2 separate regions of the Homo sapiens genome follow, and region 1 is linked to region 2. Evidence: promoter capture Hi-C in 16 types of primary human blood cells and fetal thymus (Javierre and others, 2016). All regions are on one chromosome and are shown on one strand. Each heading gives the region's core, a stretch centred on a gene start or on the middle of the fragment in contact. The rest is flanking DNA. Distances are from core to core; before and after follow the strand shown. Region 1 overlaps LOC124901057 (a long non-coding RNA gene). Region 2 holds the start of PHAX (phosphorylated adaptor for RNA export).

What was found. The method cuts DNA at HindIII sites, captures the fragments that hold promoters and counts their contacts. A CHiCAGO score of 5 or more calls a contact.
Region 1: a fragment that was not itself captured here is called in contact with the fragment with the promoter of PHAX in region 2 in 1 of 17 cell types (monocytes); the score reaches 5.0 in monocytes.

The regions. Positions count from the first base shown.
Region 1 is chr5:127,230,305-127,233,724 of GRCh38, reverse strand. LOC124901057 (a long non-coding RNA gene) reads left to right here. Exons shown (of 3, transcript XR_007058923.1): 3 at 196-1,601. LOC105379198 reads left to right here and starts at 3,341. Exons shown (of 5, transcript XM_041680488.2): 1 at 3,341-3,345. The coding sequence starts at 3,341. It also overlaps a transcript of MEGF10 not described here. The HindIII fragment of the contact is 1,217 bases long and covers 1,428-2,644 here.
Region 2 is chr5:126,599,125-126,602,632 of GRCh38, reverse strand. It overlaps PHAX (phosphorylated adaptor for RNA export), which reads right to left and starts at 1,686. Exons shown (of 5, transcript NM_032177.4): 1 at 1,575-1,686. The coding sequence starts at 1,670. RefSeq lists enhancers at 58-906, 907-1,754, 1,755-2,604 and silencers at 1,269-1,518, 1,639-1,848. The HindIII fragment of the contact is 34,757 bases long and covers 1-3,508 here.

The DNA of each region.
Region 1 (3,420 bases), core at 787-3,286, 630 kb before region 2:
AATTTCTAGCATCCTCTACTGTGCTTTCTTTTTGCTTTTCATCTTTCTTTCCATTCTTAATCTAATGGGAAAAAAAGTGAATAATAAAGTATGAATACTATTATTCATTAACCTTAAGTGCCTTCTCACTGTCCACCCAGTTAAGCATATGAAGGATGATTTATTGAACTATTAATTTGTGCTTTTTATTGCCAGTGTTTTCGTCTCCTATTCCAAGCAAGTAGCCAGGCTAATTGCCGCCTTACTTCAGGGAAGTCTGTGGCAGAAGCTTGAAAGCAAATGACCTACTACACCTGCTTGTGTCCTGGTCTTCAAGAGCTTGGGTTCCTGAAGTGGATTATGCTGGAGGAACACAGGTAGAAGCAGAAGTAACAAAGGAGAGAAGGAGACTGCCCTACTGCCCTATACCAGGAAGGTGTGGTGGTTTCCACAATCATCAAGGGGCCTGTGTCCTACTTCTAGCAGAACCTGGGGAAGAAGACAAGGATTCTGCGGAGCCTAACTGTGTGGTGAAGCTAGGGAGGCTGTACCCTTGGCAACAGGGCTTCCATTGTGAAGAAAGATGCCTGCAGGCCAAGAAGAGCAGAGAAACAGAGTCACTGCCATTCAACAGTTCATGACAACTTCAACAATAGGGCCACCATAATGAGCCAAAAATTAGGAGCAATTCTCCTGTGTTTTAAGGAACCACAAAGTCTCTGAGAGACTGAAGAAGAGAGAACACCCAAATGACAAATTAAATTTACCTCCAGCAAGGTGGGATTAAGGCTCACAGAAATATCCAGCACACTCTCCTCACATCTACTGGGGTCCAAGGCCTCAACAGCACAGTCTCCTCAACCTGCTGCTCCAGACATTTCGCTTTTCTTCCTCTGCTTGAATCCTACAATCGCAATGCTTTCCTGCCTCTGTGTTTGCTTGGAATTTTTTGTCCTTTGGCAATTTAATGCTTGTATTCATCCATTTAATAATAAGTGCCCATCTTTTCTATCTTCAAATACTTGCCCTTCATAAGGTTCTCCCTGACCCCTCTGAAAAGCCATAATTTCCTCCTTTACATCTCCAAGTTTTGTACTTCTCTTGGGACATTTACCCTGTACTACTTTTTGTTATCATTTCACATCTGCTCCTCCCAACATCTTAAACATTTATTGAACATCTACTAAGCATCCTAAAGACAGTGACTGTTTCCCAAGTACCTAGCATAACACCATATGCCATTGACCTTAGGACACTAAACTGAACAGAGCACAGAGCCTGTCCTCAAAGTTCTCAAAGTCTATGTATCATGCTCAGGGATCACAGGATTGTATGTAGTAACTTCTCAGCCTTTGTTGATCTTGATTGTCAGCACTTTAAAGCTCCATTCAGCTACTTATGTAAAATTTAAGCAAAATGAGGAAGATAATTTCGTTGGAGAGAAAGCTTCTGGATGCTTCAGAATATGCCACCTCACCTGAATGGTAACCATTACACTTGTAAATAAGATAAAATAGCAAGAAAAATATAAACATATGCTTTGATTATTTCCTTTTTGAAAATCAATAAGATCATTTTTATTTTCAAAGAAAATGTGCAAATAAAAATATTGTTACCACTTATTTGAAATCCATGAAAAATGCTGAGGTGAAGGAACTGTTGTCCAAAAACTGCTTTCTCTTCCCGGGCTTACTTCCTTTGCCTTCATTGTTTTCTGCTGCCACTCCTGCTTTGGAATTTGCTGTTATGTGTAATAAACTCCATCACAGTGTCTGTGGATAAATCAAGAAATATTCACTGGAGATCTTGTCACAGGCCACAGTCCAGACTTAATCCCTGCTCTCCCTTCCCACGCTTCTCAGTCTGTTTAGGCTCTCTCTCTTCTTCCACATTCTCCATTCTCCTGATTCTACTAGCCTTTGGAGGCGACCTTTCTGTTTTCCGTCTCCCAAGTATGTCACACACCTATATCATACTGGGCTAATGAAGGAAGGGGCACTGGCCTAGAATCAAGAAGCCTAAGCTCATTTGGTCATTTATTCAATCAACAAATATTTTTGAGTATTTTCTATGTATCAGGCCTTGGTCTAAGCCTTGGAAAGTGGTAATGAACAACATAGTGAAATCCCCAGCTTACATTCTAGTGGATAAAGTATACAGATTATCAAGAAGATTATAGATGGTGATAAACACTATGAAGAAAATAAAGGGGTTGATGTGATAGAGTAATTTTACAGGGTCACTTGGAGTGCAGCTGTCAGGGAAGGCTTTTCTGCCATTTAAGCAGAGACCTGATGGATGGGAAGGTGCTAACCAGATTCCAAGAAAGAGTGTTTCCGGCATCACATCCCTAATATGCCCAAGACACAGGAAGGAGGCCATGTGGCAACAGCAGGGAGCAGGAAGAAGAGAGGGACCCTAGCAAGATCAGCAGAAAAGGATGAGCTCATGGAGGATCTAGCAGCCATGCTGAGGAGTTTCGATTTTAATCTAAGAGTATGAGATTTATTTGATGTGCTTTAAGCAGAGGAATGAAACCATTTCATTTTTGTAAACATCACGATGACTACAGGGTGAAGAGTGGAATTAGAAATATCAATTAGGAGACTACTGCATAAACTCAGGAGAGAGAAGGGGGAGGATTCAGTTCTTTAGAGCTGAAGCTTATAGGACTTACAAATGGATCCCGTGTAAGAGGTAGTGGGGAGTCACCAAGATAGTGTCCAGATTTGGGCTAAAAGGCTTGGGTGGATGGTGGGTGCCCTTCACTGACACAGGACAGCATTCCAAGCCTGCCTTGCCCAACTCTGGGCAATTTTGCCTCTTCAACTTTGAAATAAAGGCGTTGAAAGGGACTGAATAAGTGGCACTAAAATACCACAGTTCTATTGGGTTATTAGGACACAAATATGTTTTTCTTGCTTCCCATTAAGAAAATAACACAAGATTTAAAATGACAGAGGCTGACATTCAAATCAAAGATCCACAAACCTACGTGGTATTGGCAAACAGATTCCACGTGCCTCAGTCTCCCCATCTGCAAAATGGAATCACAAAACAGGCCTGCCTCACTGTGCTGCTGGGAGGGATACATAATATATGTAAGGAGCCTGGAATATAACCGTTCTTGGTCAGTCCCACATTCTCCTTTCCTGACAGACCCAACAATTGTTTATTTTCTTTCTTTCATTCATCTCACTTTCTAAGTCTCTTGGCTCTAGGACTTTTCTCCAAGGATGAACTAAGATCTGGGACTCCCAGAGCAGATTTCACTTGTGTCCTTCCCTCCCTGGGGTGGTCGCTTAGTCCTGGACCTCTCTGCCTTCCCGCTTGGATGTAGACCATTTAAAGGGTGAGCGCCATGCAGTTAGCTTCAAGCCTGGGGACACCGGGGTTTCAACACCAGGGTTTTAATATCGGAGCTTAATTTTGACGCATACT
Region 2 (3,508 bases), core at 437-2,936:
GAAAAACAAAATATCTTGGTACTAATTTCCTAAACATTTATATGCAAAAGCAAGTATTTGTCTTTGTTAAACTCCTACTACGCTAGAAATGGAAGTTGGGACTATCTATCTTCCTATCTTCAAATAATAATCAGAGATAACACTTACCAGGCATTACTGCACACTGTATGCTCCACAGAATCCTTGCAATAACCCTATCAGTGGTACATCATGCCAATTCCACAGAGGTAGACAAAAAGCAGTGAGGCTAAATAAACCTGCTGTAGGTCACACATCGGTGGCCCCAGGATCTGAACACAGGCAGCCTGGCACCAACGCCCTCTCAAAGAGGTTGCTACCTACCAAGGCAGTCAAGACAAATTCCCGTTTAGAAAGCAGGGAAGCTGGGCCGGGCGCGGTGGCTCGCGCCTGTAGTCCCAGCACTTTGGGAGGCCGAGGCGGGTGGATCACTTGAGGTCGGAAGTTCAAGACCAGCCTGGCCAACATGGAGAACCCCCGTCTCTACTAAAAATACAAAAATTAGGCCGGGCGAGGTGGCTCACGCCTGTAATCCCAACACTTTGGGAGGCCGAGGCGGGCGGATCACCTGAGGTTGGGAGTTCGAGACCAGCCTGACCAACATGGAGAAATCTCGTCTCAACTAAAAATACAAAATTAGCTGGATGTGGCCGGGCGCCGTGGTTCACACCTGTAATCTCAGCACTTTTGGAGGCCGAGGCAGGCCGATCACTTGAGGTCAGGAGTTCGAGACCAGCCTGGGCAACATGGTGAAACCCCGCGTCTACCAAAAATACAAAAATTAACCGGGCGTGGCAGCGGGCGCATGTAATCCCAGCTACTCGGGAGGCTGAGGCAGGAGAATCGCTTGAACCCGGGAGGCGGAGGTTGCAGTGAGCCGAGATCGCGCCACTGCACTCCAGCCTGGGCAACAGCGTGAGACCACCTCAAAACAACAAACAAAATCAGAGAGGCTAATGCAAAAGCCTAGTGCCATGGTACCGCATGACAAAGCTAGGTTCGGTGGAAACATGGAAAACCAGATCTTTGAGTGAGCGATAAACTTCATTCCTGGGCCTCAGTCTCCCTTCGGCTCAGGGAGAAAATGAGCATCACAGGCTGTTTCAGGCTGATGTCCCTAGATGCTACATATTTGGCAAAATCTGCCCCTTTATGGTTACCTAGCGGCGATGGAGTGGGGAAGCCCCAAGTTTAGAAAAGAAAGAGCGGTAGGCGGAGGTGAGACGTCTAAGAGGCCGCCGCAAGCCGGCCTCCAGGAGGCGCCAGGGCTCGCGCGCCCCGCCTCGCAGGGAGCAGCCAGTTCGGGGTTCGCACGGCCAGCCGCTGCCGCTGCCGCCGTCGCCCCTCGCCCCTCGGCCCCCGCAGCCCGGGCTCCGTGAGCCCGCCTGGGGGACGTCTGCTCGCCCCTTCTGCGGCCACTGACCCGACAGCCTGGGCTCCTCGCTCTGGCCCGGGCTCCTAGCTCCCACCCCTCACCCTCACCGCTGCCTGCGCGCTCCCCGGGGCCCAGGCTCCGCGCGCCCAGCCACGATCACCCACCCTCCTTTCACACTCACTGGCAATTGCAGCGGCCTGTCGCTGGGTGCGACCGTCATGTCGGAATCCGAGTCGGAAAGCTGCCCATCTTCCATATCGCCGACCTCCAACGCCATCTTCCCGCGGTGCGCTGCGCTGCACAGCGGCGGGTCAGGAGAGCACTTCCGGCGGGGCAGCCGGAAGGCCCGGCGGCTCGGCTGCTCGGGCGCCCCCGCGCGGAGGCCAGCCTGTCCCAGCGGCCTGAGGCGTCCCATTGCATTCCAACTACCCCGGGAAAATGAATCCCTTGTTCCCCCAACACTTTTCTTCCAAACTTTATTTTCGTGCAAACATAAATATGTCACGTATCGCGGTCGTCTGGGATTCCTCCCTTGGCCGTACATCCTTCCCCTGTATGCTCTGGACAAGCCTCCCCGCTTCTGTTCTTGCTCCTCCACAATCCACTCTACATATTGCTTCCAGGGAAGCCTTTCAAGCTGTATAGTCCGCCCTCTGTATCCACTCCCCATCCACGGATGCCGAACCTGCGGATGGGAAGGACCCACCGTGCACCCCCACATAATGTAAGGGGCTTGAGCATGGCGGATGTTGGTATCTGTGGGGGTCCTGAAAACAATGACCCGCGGATACCTAGGGAGGATTGTACCTTAGCTCGAATCTTCCAAGTGCATCCCTCCCCAAAACAAGGACTGAGTTCTCAGCATGGTGTTTGAAATGTTTGTTTTCCGGTGTCGTAAAGAAATAGCAACATAAATTTAACTTACTGAATAAGGCCATTTTTACTTTCTGCAGAAAGGGTACACTCGCCAGCAGTTTTGCCAGGAGAGTACACTGAACAAAAGGAGACAGGGTCATTTATAACCTGACGTGTTTACCTTACTGCTGTGGCTGGTTTTTATTGGCTGGACCGGACCTCACATTTTGTATTTGTCCCGATTGGCTAGCAACTTAGAACTTTTTAAAAGAGGCAAAGGTAGAGGAGAACAAAGGAAGGAGGAAGTAACTTGTGGAATGCTGAGAAAGATGAAAACACTTTTAAATAAGGAAGAGGAACAGGCTATGACCTAATGCTTGCTTGGACTAGTAAAAGCATGCCAGGGCAAATATTTAGGCTAAATTGTGGGAGCTAAGAACATAAAGTACATTTTTTTTTATTATGGCTAGCAGATATTTAAGAATGTTAGCACAGATCTTTGAATAAATTTTGCTTTTAAGAGAAGTTACTATTTATTCCTAATTAGACGGGGAGGAAAGTTTTTGAAGAGGAACCTCTGTTTTACTTTGCCACATGGCAAACAAGGTCATGTGGACTGGGCATCTGGTCACTGGTCCTAGTGTGTCCCCCTGCCTAACCGCTGGCGCGCTGAACCTGTTGTTCCTCAGGCCAGGCCTCTGCATTTGCTGTTCACTCGGCCTGAGAGGCCCTTCCCTCAACCCACCCCATTCTTTAAGGGTTATCTTGGAACCCGCCTTTGCGAAAATTATAACAGTGAGAAAATTATGGCAGTGGGAGAGATCTGATCTAGCCAACCCCTATCTTGCTTTTAGCCTTCAAGCTGCCCTTAATTATTCCTGTGCTTGGGCCTGTCAATGTAACTTTGGGAGACATTTAGTTTATAGTTTAAATGATAATAACCCTTCCCCAAAAGCCAACCGCCTTTGTAAAGCTAGTAAGAGACCACCAGGGTAGACGGATAAAGGAGGCTGAATTCTGCTAAGGTGTAGACATAAACCGTTGCCAGTCATTATCCCAGAGGTCACAAGGTATGCAACTTTTCCATTACTCTTCCAGATAATATCACTATTGTAGACCCTAAGATTGGCGTTTTGAGATATCTTTTCAGATATTTTGCATGTCTGACTACCAATGGTTCCACCTGAACCTCTAACCGCTTCTGGGTTCCCACACAGAAGTTGTCGAGCTGCTTGAGGACAATTTCCCATACCCCTATGA